Regions from separate parts of the Homo sapiens genome. Here regions 2, 3 and 4 are each linked to region 1. The links are contacts of gene promoters, found by promoter capture Hi-C in human tissues and cell types (Jung and others, 2019). All regions are on one chromosome and are shown on one strand. The core of a region is centred on a gene start or on the middle of the fragment in contact, and the rest is flanking DNA. Distances in the headings are between cores, read along the strand shown. Region 1 holds the start of PEMT (phosphatidylethanolamine N-methyltransferase). Region 2 has its middle 51 kb from the start of MED9. Region 3 has its middle 29 kb from the start of MED9. Region 4 has its middle 78 kb from the start of MED9.

Region 1 (3,595 bases), core at 1,010-3,509:
GCAATTCTCCTGACTCAGCCTCCTGAGTAGCTGGGATTACAAGTGTGCACCACCATGCCTAGCTAATTTTTGTATTTTTAGTGGAGACGGGGTTTCACTGTGTTGGTCAGGCTGGTCTTGAACTCCTGACCTCATGATCCGCCTGCCTCGGCCTCCCAAAGTGCTGGGATTCCAGGTGTGAGCCAGGCAGGAGGTTTTTATCTGACTTGTTTCAAGCTGCAAGTCTGTCTCCTGGGTGGGGTGTTTGCTTTTCACAGAGGAAGGGTGGCCCAGGTTGGGTAGGCTGGAGTAGAGGATCGGACTGCATCAGTTCTGGTGTGACCTCTTACGGTTGCCTTACTTTGTTCTCAGATAAAGCAAACGCACAAAAATTTGTTTTCTGGGCTTAACAAAACAGGAGTGACCAGTTAGGTCAGAAGACTGGAACATCAGTGAAGTGGATGTGTGGTAGGCGGAGGGGAAAGACTTGCTAGAAGCCCTCCCGCTGCGGGGGGCTCCTTCAGAAATGGCTCTGCCTCTAGCAGCTCTGCCTGGACACTGAGCAGGGAAAGGGTCCCGACACTCATTAGTAACAGTGGTAAGTCAGAGAACCAGCCCTGAGCCTGTGTCCCCAGCCCTGCCGGGGGCCAATGCCTACTGAGCACTTCCCACAGGCCAGTTCCTGGGTGATGAGTTTTACCAACATGTATTTCCCTTTTACTTTTGAGGAAAATGAAGGTGGGCTCAGTCACAGAGATAGTGCATGCTCCAAAGCCAGTGTCTTTCCTGTCTCCTCGGTTGGCCTGCCCCATCCTAGCGATGTTGTGAAGATTGGGACTACCTCTAAAGCAGCACACAGTGGCTGCTCAGTAAATGCTCAACACTGGTAGGTGCTGTGGGCCAAGGTGGAGAGAAACGGGCCATCTGGAGCAGGAAGCAGCTGACTGCAGAAGTCCTGTCTGGGCCCCCAGCAGTCTGGGTGACTGAGCAAATCTTGGAACCTCTCAGTCTATTTCCCCATATTACATAACACCTGGCTACAAAAGGGCTTTTTTCTTTTTTGAGAGGGAGTCTCGCTCTGTCGCGCAGGCTGGCATGCAATGGCACCATCTCCGCTCACTGCAACCTCCACCTCCTGGGTTCAAGCGATTCTCCTGCCTCAGCCTCCTGAGTAGCTGGGATTACAGGTGCGCGCACCACACCCGGCTATTTTTTGTATTTTTAATAGAGACGGGGTTTCACCGTGTTAGTCACGCTGGTCTCGAACTGCCGACCTCTGGTGATCCGCCCACCTCGGCCTCCCAAAGTGCTGGGATTACAGGCATGAGCCACCACACCCGGCCTACAAAAGGGGTTCTTCTGGGACCCGATCGTCTAAACTCTTCTCCATTTGACCCCCTCCATCACTACTCCACAGCTCACCGGTCTTTTCTCTGTTCCTTAGGTGCCCGTCCTGTCTCCAGGCCTTTGTACATACCATTCGTCTTGCCTTGTTTGCCCTGCCCTCACACTTGGCACATCTGGCACCTCCCCTGCACATTCTAAGACAGCATCCTTCCGTACCATTTGACCCACCCCGTTTTTTCCACCACAGTACTCATCCATATTATAACCCTTTATTCACATTTTGTCTTTTATCTCAGTCAGGAGGAAGCGAGGGCGGGGGACTCTGTGTTGTTCCCTACCGTACCCTCAGCGCACAGTCTGGTTCAGAAAATACTCGAGAGTGAATGAGAGAATGAATGAAGGAAAAAATGAGTGGAGGAGGGGTCTTTGGCCGAGCTAAAGAGCCTGGGCGCCGCGGGGGCGGGAAGCTCTAGGCAGTGCTCGTCGCGCACCGCCCCCAGAGTAAAGCGAATTTCAGAAGAGGGCGTGGGGCCCTGGGCGTGTGGGGCCCTGGGCGTGTGTGACCCGGGCCAAGTCCAAGTCCGCAGGAGGCTGCGCGGGAAGCTGCTTATAGCTACGACCCGCGGCCCCCGGCCTCTAGCCCCACCGCCGCCAGGCAAGGGCAGGGACGCCAGGTCAGTTACAGGCTCGGGTGCGGCAGCCGGCGACCAAAGGCACTGGGCGGGAGGCCGGATCCAAGGGGATACTGCTACGTAGCTGCAGCGGAACCGGCAGGCTCTGCGGCGAAACACACTGGGACTTGTAGTTCTCGGCTCCTCTAGACGCTGTCGCGAGCCCCCAGATAAAGAGGCACTTCGCGGTGACGGGGAACTACATTTCCCAGAAGGCCGGAATATGTTGGGGGTCACCGGGAAAGCGCCCCGACTGGCGGCACTTACCCGGCTCTATAGGTCCGGTTCCGGGGGCGCGTGGCTGCAGCGGGGCCCGCGTGGTGCCTCCTGAGGCGGCCCCCGGATGAAGAGATCTGGGAACCCGGGAGCCGAGGTAACGAACAGCTCGGTGGCAGGGCCTGACTGCTGCGGAGGCCTCGGCAATATTGATTTTAGACAGGTACTGACCGCACCGGACCGCCGCGGAAACTGGGAGAGGGATCTGCAAGGCCCGAGGGGCGTGAAGGCTTGCGGCGCCTCAAACGCTGCGGGGCGGGGCCGCCAGTTCCCAGGCAATGGGGGCGTGGCGTGGCGGGGGTGGGGGAGCCGCGTGCGGGAGCGCCGGCTGGTGTCTGTGTGTGTGCGTGTGCGCGCGCGTGTAAACCTCAGATTGCGTGTGTCAGAGACGGGGGCGTTCCTGAGCTCGTCTGATTGTGTGCCTGTGTGTGGCCCTGAGATTGTGTGAGACTCAGAGGTTGTCCGTGTTAGTCTTTGGGATTGTGTCTCACTGAAATTATGTGATGCTCTGAGAGTGTGCCGGAGAGTGAGTGTGAGTGTGTATGACCGAGGCTGTGTGTGACTGAGCGTGGGCGAGGGTGAAGGAGGCCGATTATATGTTTGGGAGTGTGTTGTGTGGCCCCTGCTCCCGTCCATCCCCCAGGGTCAGGAGGCCAGCTTTTGCCCAGAGGCAAGAGAGTGGTGGGGACCCTGCCTGTCTCCCAGCCGGCCCTGGGCAGGCTGCAGACCACCACCCAGCCGTTTCGGGGCCATAATGGGTGCGACCGGCCCCAGAAGCTGGGGGCCTGGCTTGCCTGCTGAGGCTGCCCTCTGCAGAGTCCTAGGCCAGAGAGTGCCTGTCCTGGCATCTCCCCAGGCTCCCAATTCCAATGGATTCCAATTTCCAACCTCTCTTGCATTCTCCCTTCTATCAAAGCTTCCTCTTAGATGCTCCATTTACCTTTTTCATCACCCACTCTTCATGAAGCCTGTAAGGCACATCTCTGCCCCAAGCAGCTTCTAATCCAGTTCTTTCGCTCCCTTCATTCCTTACTCACATGTGCATTTATTCACTCACTGATCCAGCCAGTATTGATTCAGGGCCGGCTGAGGGCCTCGTGTCACTCAGAAGTTTAAGGGCACTTCTGTCACTGAGCTTTCATTCTAGGGAGGGAGATTGTAGGCCTGGAAAGCCAGAGAGTTCTCTGAAGGAGCTAATACCAGTTAGTGTTTTGAAGAGTAGCTGATGGGAAGGCGGGATTGAAATCCCAAGAGAGCCTGTTGCCGTATCTGCGAGGGAGGGACCTGGGATCTGAGAGCCGAAAGGTCAGTCAGTGGGGCAA
Region 2 (3,694 bases), core at 763-3,262, 170 kb after region 1:
AAAATAATTCAGTCGACTGAGAAGAAAAAAACCTTTTTCCAGAAAAACAAGATCCATGAAGAGAAAAGACAACAAAAGCCTTTTAAATATACTTATAGCATGGACATCCATCTTTAATTAACCTGACCTATAGCTTGCAGCTTGGATACCCATCTTTTTTTTTTTTTTTTTTTTTTGAGACAGAGTCTTGCTCTGTCATCCAGGCTGGAGTACCGTGGTGCGATCTCGGCTCACTGCAACCTCTGCCTTCTGGGTTCAAGCGATTCTCCTGCCTCAGCCTCCTGAGTAGCTGGGACTACAGGTGTGTGCCACCATCCCTGGCTAATTTTTGTACTTTTAGTAGAGACTGGGTTTCAGCATGTTGGCCAGGATGGTCTCAATCTCTTGACCTCATGATCCGCCCACCTTGGCCTCCCAAAAGTTGACTTTTAACCATAGGGCTCCTCTTTAAGAAGTCCTTTTAAATCTCTTATTACCTGACCTTAGCCACGCCAAATGGCCAATACTTCAATACTTCTAGCTTTTGAACTCATGGAGGGGCAGATAATACAGTGATTTTTACCATGACTCTTGACATGGTGGAGGAAAGACCTGAGACGCCCCTCACGGTCATGCATCTTGGGGACTCTGAGGTTTGTGAGCCTGCAAGGTGGCTTTTAGAGGCTCTGCTTTTTTCTTGTATTGCCTTTCTCTTTTTTGGACTTCCTTCTGGTCCCTATTGTAAAAGACTGAGGTGGCCACTTTTAGGAGGTTCTCTAAAGTACTATCTCGTCCTATAGCCTGTTTCTGTAGCTTCTTCCTGATATCCGGAGGCCACCTTTGTGATAAACTTGTCCTTTAGGATTAGCTGTCCCTCGACTGAATCAGGAGCTAGAGAGGTGTGCTTTACCAAAGCCCCTCTTAGCCTTTCCGGAAGGCAGTGGGATTCTCATCTAATCCCTGATCTATCATGGCGATCTTGGAGGAATTGAGAGGCTTAGTCCTAGTTCTTCACAAGCCCTCCAGTATGTACACCTGAATGTGTTTCCCCCTCCATTCTCCCATTTCATCCTTAGGGTCCCATTTAGGGTCCTCCAGTGGTGCTGCTATTTTTCCAATCATATAAGTCTCATTCCCTTCCTTGGCCCTATATAAGATACAAAGCTCATCCCCCAAATTCTCTACTACTTGCAGGGTGGCCTGCTTTCCAGTGGTGGTCAGGGATTGATTCAAAAGTAACATGACATCCTTCCAGGAGAGCTCAAATATTTTGATTAAGTTCTGGAAAGCCTCTATATCCCTGTCAGGGCTGCCTGAAAACTTGCCAAGATCTGCCTTAATTTGCCTTAAGTCTAGTAGAGAAAAGGGGACCTGGACCTCAATGGGGCCATATTCACCAGGCATCTGTTGTAGGGGCAGTTGAGACTGGGACCTGCCTAAAACGAGGATTCCTAGGCTGGGGCAAGCTTGAGAGATAACCTGGATAGGGAGGAGCAGAGGGGGTTGATTCTCCTGCTGGAGGTACTTCTGGGGTTTGCTTCCCTGGTATTGCCCCTTGCAGCCTCTCCTGAGATGGCCAGTAGGAGGGCTGAATCAATCCTACATCAGCAAAGGTCCAGGCTACCCTGCAAGGCAAAGAAGGCCTGCACATATGGGACCATGGACCATTTGCCCCCGCGTTTACAGAAAGGCTTCCTTCCTGAGGCCGTGCTTCTTTTCTGTGCCTCAAGGTGCTTGGCACTAAGTTATCACCCAAGGAAATGACAAGAACATTTTTGCCACAAATTTATGTACAGATACCAAGGCACACTTGGCTTCTGTGCTACTCTTAACCTTCCATTTTAGACTTCTGATGACTAAGCCAAATGCTCATTCAATCCAGTACTAGCTCTGGTTTGCAACAACATCCTTAACATTTATTTTTTTTTTTTGAGACAGAGTCCTGCTCTGTCACCTGGGCTGGAGTGCAGTGCCACAGTCTCAGCTCACTGCAACCTTTGCCTCCCGGGTTCAAGCGATTCTCCTGCCTCAGCCTCCTGAGTAGCTGGGATTACAGGCACCACCACGCTGGGCTAATTTTTTTGTATTTGTAGTAGACACAGGGTTTTGCCATGTTGGCCAGGCTGGTCTCGAACTCCTGACCTCAGGTGATCCACCCACCTCAGCCTCCCAAAGTGCTGGCACAGACATAAGCCACTGTGCCTGGCAACATCCTTAACATTTAACATGGTACATAAAGAAGAAATAGGAACCTTGATATCCTGAAAGAAAGAAAGAATGTTAGGAAAGACCGGAGGTCCTAGTGCTGACACTGTAACAGGTGGTCAGGGACTGGAGTTAGTCCACGGGCCTTTGAATTAGGCCAAAGGGTAGCCTTGGCCAGATACCCTCAGTTGCCTCAGGACCTCCTTCTGGTCCCACACAATGGCTAGACCTCTGTGAAAGAAAACTGGTTTGGAACAAAGCCAACATTCCCAACATCTGAGGGTAATGGAGGGTTGCCAGTGTCCTCCCCAGCAAGCCTGTCCTCCGTGTCCTAAGTCTGGCAGCCACACTAGTTGCTCTTAACTGGCTGATAGAGGCCTGGTATTTTTCTTTCATTTTGACTATTGTGGAGTTTAGAGACTTTGAAAAAAGGACAGAAAGAGTAGATCTGCGCACATGTACCCTAAAACTTAAAGTATAATAAAAATAAAATAAAATAAAAAGAGTAGATCTGCTTTTACTCACCCTTCTGCAGATCCTGGACAAGCCCTCCAAAATGTTATGGGATCCTTGAGGTGTTGCTTTTCTAGCCAGAAACCTCTGTGGTCAGTGGTACCTTTTGCCCGAGTTTTGCTTGGACCCTCTGGGCTCATTCTGCCCACTTGGCCTGGCAGGCTATGCCGGCTCATGTTCCTAGCCTGGATCCCATGCCTGGCAAGGGCAAGCCAGGCATGGGGCGGTGAGGGGTGCGTGAGTGAATGAGCATGGGGTCTGGTCACTGCACACAGGCACGCCGGCTGCTGCAGCAGGGCGGGCAACTCCAGGTGCCAGCATGGGTACAGGCTCTCTGTGAGGCTGCAGCTGGATCAGGTGCAATGCAAGTAGCTTCCATAGCTGCCGCCAGGGGACACAGTGGTGCCTGGAAGCTTGGAGACTCCAGGAACTGCAGCATCCCAAAGAGAGAGGCACAGCCCTGGCTCAGGGAGCTCCCAGGTCTGGGATCTCTGAAGGATTACAGCTCTTCTCTCCTGCTCCTCACCTGCAATGTCACAAACAAGGGGCATGTTTCAGCTCTGTTTGTGTTATAGACCTTTCAGACCTGCCATTCAACAGGTCCCAAGTTCTTGTCCCACATCCAGGAGGAATGAGGTATGTGGACAAGTGGAGAGTGAGCAAGGTGAAGAGGAGCTTTATTGAGTGATAGACTAGCTCAGAGGAGGCCCTGGAATGGGTAGCTCCTTCTGCAGGCAGGTCATCCCATCGTTCTCTGAAGCTCTCAGCAGAGAGGAGACCCTGGAATGGGTAGCTCCTCTCTGCAGCTGGTTTTCCCAACATCTGCTCAGCTCTGGCTGAGTCTGGGGGTTTTATGGGTCTCAGAGGGAGGAAGTGAGTGCCAATTGGTCCATGGGCAGCCATGGGGGGATCTGGAAAAAGCACCACAAGTTCCCACTTTGGTCCATGGAACTGGTAGCCTGGCCCCGAGCCTTCAGGCCCTTTCTGGCCTGAAGGT
Region 3 (3,535 bases), core at 181-2,680, 140 kb after region 1:
GATCTGTGATCTTTTCTGTATGTATCTGATACTTCAATAACAAAATTAACTTTGAAAAAAAGCAGAAGGCATGTTTGGTTGCTCATGGATGTGCTGGGAGAATCAGAGAGCTAGGCCTGAAAGCCAGAGTCCAGAACACTGCCCCTAATTTTTTTTTTTTTTTTTTTTTGAGATGGAGTTTTGCTCTTGTGACCGAGGCTAGAGTGCAGTGGCACCATCTCTGCTCACCGCACCTTCCACCTCCCAGGTTCAAGCAATTCTCCTGCCTCAGCTTCCTGAGTAGCTGGGATTACAGGCTCCTGCCATCACACCCAGCTAATTTTTGTATTTTTGGTAGAGACAGGGTTTCACCATGTTGGCCAGGCTGGTCTCGAACTCCTGACCTCAGGTGATCCGCCCGCTTCGGCCTCTCAAAGTGCTGGGATTACAGGCATGAGCCACCGCGCCTGGCCAACACTGCCCCTAATTAAGGCATGGAGCTGTTTCAAGGGAGGAAAAGGTGGCAGGCGTTGCAGCCAGAGGGGCTGGTTCAAATCCCAGCTCTGCCAGTCCTTAGTTATGGGACTTTGGACAAGTCTCTGGATCCCTCTGAGCTGTGTCCTCATCTGTACGATGGGGTGCCAGCCCACAGCTTATCCCACCACTGTCCACACTGGCACTGCCTGTTATCATGCCTGGCAGAATGGATCCCGGATGGTACCTGCCCCTTCACAGCTGAGCTCAGGGTGAGCACATCTGATTGGCCAGCCCTGGGCACATGACCACACTACACCCTGCAGCATGTGGAGGTCAGTGCGAAGCTGGGTGCAGGGTCTGGCTCAGGGGTTCCATGGAGCCCCAGGGTGGGCTTTACCCGCCAAGATTCTGACTTACCTGATCTGGGGAGAGTCTGGAATGTGGCTGTTCTTTTTAAGCTCCCCAAATGATTCTAGTGTGAGTCAAAGTTGAGAACCACTGCCCTGAATCTTTATCTTTGAATCCTGAAAACTTTCTAAAAGGAAAACGATCCCAGAACCTTCAGAGTTTCTGTCCATTCGAATCTAGTACTAGTATACCTCGTTTGAAATTAACCTCATCTAGCGCCATCTAAGCTCAGAAAATGAAGCCATTGTGGGATCATTTGCCAAAGGACTTGTTGACATCTGTTTTTATTCTTTTTTATTTTATTTCATTTTTCTTTTATTTCCTTTTTTGTTTCTTAATCCGAGTGAACTCATAAAGTCTGTTTTTAAGTGGTACTTAAGCAGTTAAAATATGACTCAGTTTGACTCCATTGAAACTGCTTTAAATAATTTCCAAACAAGATGAAGTTAAGAGTAAATAAAATAGTCACGTTTGGGAGCATGAAGGAGCCGGCAGCTTTTGACGGTCTGGTGATCAGGCAGCCACGCAGGACCAGGTCTCGACTGTCCTTGGGTTTTGTGGAGCATTAAAAAGGAATAAGGAAATGGGGTGGAGGAGGTCAGCTAATTCTGGGAACAAAGCTAAGACTGCTGTGACTGGGGACTGGTGGGGTCATCAACTCTTTCTTGGGTAACTTTGGCCATGCTTTTTTTTCCTCTGCAGAGTCTGAAAAGGCTACCTGCTTTAGTTTCCTGTGGTTGCTGTAATCATTACAACAACACAAATGTAATGTCTCACTGTTCTGGAAGCCAGAAGTCCAAAACCAAGGTTTCTGCAGGGGTTTGCGCTCTAAAAGCTTGGGGGGAGGATCTTTCCTACCTCCTCCAGCTTCTGGTGGCTCCAGGTGTTTCTTGGCTTGTGGCCACATCACTCCAATCTCTGTCTCTGTCTTTGCGTGGTCTTCTTGCCTGTGTCTCTGTGTCTTCTCCTCTTCTCTTACAAGGACACTTGTCATTGGATTTAGGACCCACTTGGATGATTCAGGGTGATTTCACCTCAAGATCTTAATTGTATCTGCAAAGACTCTGTTTCCAAATAAGGTCACATTCTGCATTTCTGAGACATGGACATCTTTTGAGAGGGTCATAATTCAGCCCACTCCACCACCTTTGCTCAAAGGATGCTTCTGCATTTAACTTAGATTCAGCATCCTGATTCCACAAGTGTACTTTGGCCTAGCTCTGGATTTCAGATTTGGCAGGGCCGAGGTCCTTGAACCCCAGTGCCCGGGTCAGCAGAGATCATTTACCATGCAGATTCTGAGGGAGTAAGTCTGGGCAGAGCTCAAGGTTCTGCATTTCCAACAAGCTCCCAGGTGATGCCAACAAAGCTGCTGGCCAGGAACCTCCCTCTGAGCAACACGTCTGGTGACTATGGGAAATATCCAGGTCCCACCCTGGTGATCCTGATCCAGAGGCCCATTCTTTCCAGGCAGCTTTCAGATCCCATTCTGAACCGGGGCCGGCAGCCCCTGCCCTGTGCTCAGGAGCAAGGCCTGCAGGCCAGGAATGAGCCAAGCCAGCCTGAGCCCCTAGCCACCTCCTAAGAAGGGTGTTTCCCAGTCCTGAAGTTTGGCTGGGAATTCCAATAGAATCCGTGACCTTTCAGGAAGCATCTACACTCTCCTAGCCCCCTCCCTCTTACATACCACCCCTCAGCCCTCTTTCTCTCTTGCCCTCTGATAAGTTCCCCCTTGGGTCCTCAGACAAGCCACAGGGCCCTGCCAGCTGCCTCCTGGCTGGATGCAACCCAACCTCACCGCATGGTGGGGATGGCCCAGGTGAGGGCACAGAAGGCCCACCTCTGTCTAGCCAGGCCCCACGTCAGCAGGGCTGCCAGCACAGGGACAGCGAGACCAGCTGGGGAACTGGTTATTTCAAGTGGCTCCCAACAAATCATGTCATTTCCTCAGCTGTGAAGACTGACAGCCCTCAGCACTGTGGCAAATGCAAGCCACTCTTTCCAATGATCAGTGTGAGAGGAAGAAAGGGAGACCCCATGGGGGAGAGGAGGCCTCCCCTGCCAGCCTGCATGGGGCTGAGCAGTGGGGCAGGGACAGAGGTGATGCGACCACAGCTGAGTGACTCAGCCAGGGTCTGCTCTCTCACATATGGTGGCCAGGACCCAAGATCCCACCTGTGGCAGGTGTCCCTGAGGGCAGTTGACACCTCAAAATAAAACTTGAGATTGCTCATGCAACCGTGAAAAGGAAACAATTTATTACCATAAAAGAGCCATTTAATGTGAGACCCCAATAGCCTCTGGCTGTCTGTCATCCTGATCTGACGTGAAATGGATTTGATATTATCTGCAAACAACCACACATTCCTTCAGAAGAAAGTCACCTCCACAGAGGATACATGACTTGTTTGTTTGTGGTTGGCTATGGCTTTGACTTTCCCCGCCACGCTGTTTGCCTTGGTTAATGACCAGCCGGAAGTGCCCTGCCTCCTGTTTGGCTGATGAAAACGCTGACCTTTTCAGGAATGATTCCAAACCAGGCATCTGTGGATGACTTACCTCATCCCTTTCATTGCTCCCCACCACACTGCATTCCCCATAAAGGAAGTAGCTATTTTAGGCAAGGGAAAATGAGATGGTGGGACTTTCCCCAAAAGCAGGCTTGTGCCTG
Region 4 (3,949 bases), core at 344-2,843, 190 kb after region 1:
CTGCCATCGGGACCCCAGACACACGCTCCATGTGCACAGACATGCGCTCACGTGGGTGTGTGGGTTAGACATGACATACAGGGATCTGGCCTTCCCTTGCATTGAAACCTAGTTGGCGGGTTGGGAGGGTATGTGGTTAAATCCGAGCAAGAGACACAGACCCCATGAGTGTAATCACATGCCTAAACCAGGCCAGGAGACTCGGGCACACGATGTGGGTTTGTCTGCTATGTGGGCACTGGACTCTGGGAAGCCTGAGCCCCTTGGAGCCCCCGCTGGTGGGACAGGCTGGAGCTAGGAGCTTAGCAACTCGGGTTCCTGGAAGGTAGAGAAACATAAGAGCAAATCAGGAGACAAGAGGAGGCAAGGAAAGCTGGAGGGCAAAGAGGCCCCTGGAAGCCCCTCTAAGCCCAATTTCCCAGTGTTGACAACGAAAACAAAATCAAGCTTTCGAAGAACTAAAGTTCATTTCATTCAGGAGTCTGAGGACTCCAGACCACATCTACTGCCTCAGGGCAGTTCTGTTGAAGCCCACGGCTTACATACAGGTGGTGGAGGTTCAGCAAGTGCAAAATCACATCGGACTTGCTCAGAAGTTACGTTGAAGCAGCAGCCCATCAAGGTGTGGGTGTAAGAGCACCTCTGGTTATAGATGGCAGAGGCATCGTCATTAAGCCTGTCAGAAAGGCAAGGACTAGAGCTCTTCTCTTTTAAGGAATCAAGTGACTCAGGCAAGAGACGTGCGGGGCCGGGCGCTTCATCCTGCTTTGCCTTCAAAGCATCTTTCCAGAGAGCTGCACGTTGTCACAGAGTCAGGGGTTCAAGCAGAAATGAGCCAACGTGGCTTCTTACGCATGCTACTTCGTCTTACAGTGGGAAGAATAAAAATGCTTCATCCTCATCCCTGGGTGCTACAGCCTTTGCAGCCTCCTTGTCGGAGTGGGAATGGTCGTCAGCGGCAGGCACATCTGAGAGCAGGGCACACCCTGAGACAGGGCAGGATCGGAGCAACATAAGGGCACATCTTGAGGCCCTGACTGGGGCCCCAGGCTGGCTGCTTTTCTTCCCACCCTAGAGGGTATTTCTGTACCTCTCTACCACAAGGCGCTCGAGGAAGGCTTACTGAGAATGCTGCAGTGGAACAAAGTCTGAAGGAGGTGAGGGAGCAAGTTCTGTCTGTGTAGTGTGGAAAAGCATTGCAGGAGAGGGTACAGCCAATGCGAAGGCCCTGAGGCAGTACCGTGAGTGGCCAGAATGAAATGAGCAGGCAGCAAGGGGAGCAGGCATGCCACCAGGCCAGAGCACTCACGGGGGCTAGTGGGAGGACTCTGGCCTCATCCTGAGGGAGGTGGGAGCCCTGGAGGGTTTGTGGGGAGGAAGGAGGATGACTTTCAACAGCGTCCCTCTGACTGCTAGAAGGAAAACTAGCAGTGTGTGGGTGGGGGCAGGGGTGGGAGCGGGAGACCAGTGAGCCACCATTCAACTCTATGATCCACGCACAGCTGGGCTGGGCCGGAGCCCACAGGCTTAGGACCCAGCATCAGGCGGGGTAGTGGGCAGCCTGGAAGGGCTGAGAGTAGTGGGCAGGCTGGAAGGGGTGAGTCAGGGCCGCAGCAGGGAGTAGCAGTGAGGGACGTGGGCTCCAGCATTGGGCTTCAAGTCCCACAGAGTCCCAGCCAGCCTTGGGACCTGTGGGCAAGTTTGTGCATCTTCCTGGGTCTCCATTTTCCTATATAAAAAAATAAAAAATAAAAGAATGGCAGATAAAATATGGTGTCAGCCCCTAGGATCGGGTGGGTGGCTGTGTGCAGGTCTGCTTTTAATTTAAGGCAAATGTGTAACAGTGAGGGAAGTGAGGGCCAGACCTGGGTGGGGCCTGGCAGGGCCCAGGGCACAGCCTTTAAGGGCGGGCCTCAGAGCGAGGCTGTGCTTTTCTCTGCTCCAGGTTGCAAGCCTTTGGTCTCTTGAACCTTTCCTCCAGGTCCTCACCTCAAGTGCTCAAGGCATTTTTGTTGTCCTCCTCTCTGGAAACTGTGGGATGTACAAGAAGAAGAGCTTTGCTTATCCCCACACATTCTGTTCCCAATTTGAGCCCTGCCTGCTTGTTTTTCTTAAATAACACTTAGCGAAACCTTCCTTTTTATCTTGCCAACTTGAATTTATCTTGTGGTCCACTGAGACACTTGGATTTGGGGGTTTTGTTTTTCTGCTTCTGATTGCACCACTGGATTTCCAACTTCCTGTGTGCTTTGTGGCTCATGATCCCATTTGGACCGGCTGCTCCCCACTGCAGGGAGGGTGGCGGTGAGCTGGCCTGGCAGCCTCCCCAGGACCACATGGAGGGACAGAGGAGACGTTCTCTGAAGGAAGGGGGTGGTCTGTGGTGCCAACACCAGATCCTGGGCACAGAGGACACCATCCTTTTTTTCACAGTGTCTGAGGGGGACTCATCCCCTCCCCAAAGCCCACTTGACACTCTTCTTGGCAGGGCAGGGGGTTCATTTACCCTCTCTCAACCTCTGTTCCTTCTGGAAAAAGGAAAGAGCAGATTGCTGCCCCTGGCCTCTCTGAAGGGCTTTGTGCTGTCAAGTGTCCAAGTAGTTCGTGGAACAGCAGGACACTAAACACCAACCTGCGGCCTCACAATGATGATGATGATTGCCCCTAAAAGGGGGATAATCGCTGTGACCTACTTAGGGCACAGTTGTCACTAATGGCCTTGGAGAGCTGTGAAAATAGCAAGTGCCAAGGGGGAAGCCGAGGTGAATCTGGGCAGAGTGGTTGCTGCATATCTGTGTTTGCATCTCTGCTCCCTTTTTCCTGTGTCTTGGTCAAAGGCCTGAGCAGCATTTCTCAGGAGGAATGACCCAAAGGCCCCAGGCCCATCCTTGCAAAGACCACTGCTCTGTGCCTGGTCAGGGGGTTAGCAGCAGAAACCCATTCACTCAGGCATAAGCAAACGGGACATTTTTACAATATACAGTGTTTTGTGGTTCTGAACACAAGGGCAAGAATGAGGTCAGGCATCTCTCTGGTGGAAAAGTATCGCTGGGGATGGAACAGCCAATGCAAAGTCATTGAGGCAGGACCATGAGTGGTACCTTTTGGGAAGTGCTCTGGAAGGCCACGGAACCAGCGGCTGAAATGGAATCAGACCTCCAAGTTCCCTTTGTATGTTTCATCCCTCATTTTAAAAAATATTAAATGTGGCCAGGCGTGGTGGCTCACGCCTGTAATCCCAGCACTTTGGGAGGCCGAGGCAGGCAGATCACGAGGTCAAGAGATCGAGACCATCTTGGTCAACATGGTGAAACCCCGTCTCTACTAAAAATACAAAAATTAGCTGGGTGTGGTGGCACATGCCTGTAATCCCAACTATTTGGGTGGCTGAGGCAGGAGAATTTCTTGAACCCGGGAGGTAGAGATTGCAGTGAGCCAAGATTGCACCACTACACTCCAGCCTGGTGACAGAGCAAGAATCCATCTAAAAAAAAAAAATTAAATGCAACAATGAATATGCAACCAGGCATAGAAAATTATATAACACACAGCTTTGCACTCACCAACAAGCTTCATCTTCAGATCTGCTTCAATTCTCCACCAAGGATTCCAATACATGGTGCTCCTGGGTCCCTTTCCCAGCCAGTCTCTCCTCTCTTTGTATCCCCGGAAGTGGCCATTACTCTGATTCTGGCGTTTGCTCATCTCACAAAAGCTTTTGTGCTTTTACCACTACATACATATGTGCCCATAAGCATTAGTGCAAATAATGGAACTATGTGTTTGGAAACTTTTTATTGAGAGTTTCACTGTGGGTATTCTTCTTTTTTCTTGCTTCTTGATTTTTTTCATTTCACATTAGGTGCTAGGGACCTCTCCTAGCTGATTGAGGTAGTTCTTGGTCACTCATGTTCACTGCTGTTTGGGGTCAGTGGAATAACAATACCAC

What was found. Contacts are between HindIII fragments. The study calls those that stand out against the background at their distance.
Region 2: a fragment that was not itself captured here is called in contact with the fragment with the promoter of PEMT in region 1 in 3 of the 25 tissues and cell types used here (bladder, dorsolateral prefrontal cortex and mesendoderm cells).
Region 3: a contact is called between a fragment that was not itself captured here and the fragment with the promoter of PEMT in region 1, in 1 of the 25 tissues and cell types used here (IMR-90 fibroblasts).
Region 4: a contact is called between a fragment that was not itself captured here and the fragment with the promoter of PEMT in region 1, in 1 of the 25 tissues and cell types used here (lymphoblastoid cells).

Annotation. Positions count from the first base shown.
Region 1 is chr17:17,590,372-17,593,966 of GRCh38, reverse strand. It overlaps PEMT (phosphatidylethanolamine N-methyltransferase), which reads left to right and starts at 2,259. Exons shown (of 7, transcript NM_148172.3): 1 at 2,259-2,436. The coding sequence starts at 2,341. RefSeq lists enhancers at 2,118-2,507, 2,073-2,814. The HindIII fragment of the contact is 9,919 bases long and covers 1-3,595 here.
Region 2 is chr17:17,424,549-17,428,242 of GRCh38, reverse strand. No RefSeq gene overlaps it. Among named protein-coding and RNA genes, the nearest start is that of MED9, 51 kb to the left of the region's middle. RefSeq lists a silencer at 3,341-3,541. The HindIII fragment of the contact is 4,494 bases long and covers 1-3,694 here.
Region 3 is chr17:17,446,159-17,449,693 of GRCh38, reverse strand. No RefSeq gene overlaps it. Among named protein-coding and RNA genes, the nearest start is that of MED9, 29 kb to the left of the region's middle. RefSeq lists an enhancer at 2,702-3,535. The HindIII fragment of the contact is 3,984 bases long and covers 1-3,422 here.
Region 4 is chr17:17,397,059-17,401,007 of GRCh38, reverse strand. No RefSeq gene overlaps it. Among named protein-coding and RNA genes, the nearest start is that of MED9, 78 kb to the left of the region's middle. The HindIII fragment of the contact is 4,101 bases long and covers 1-3,643 here.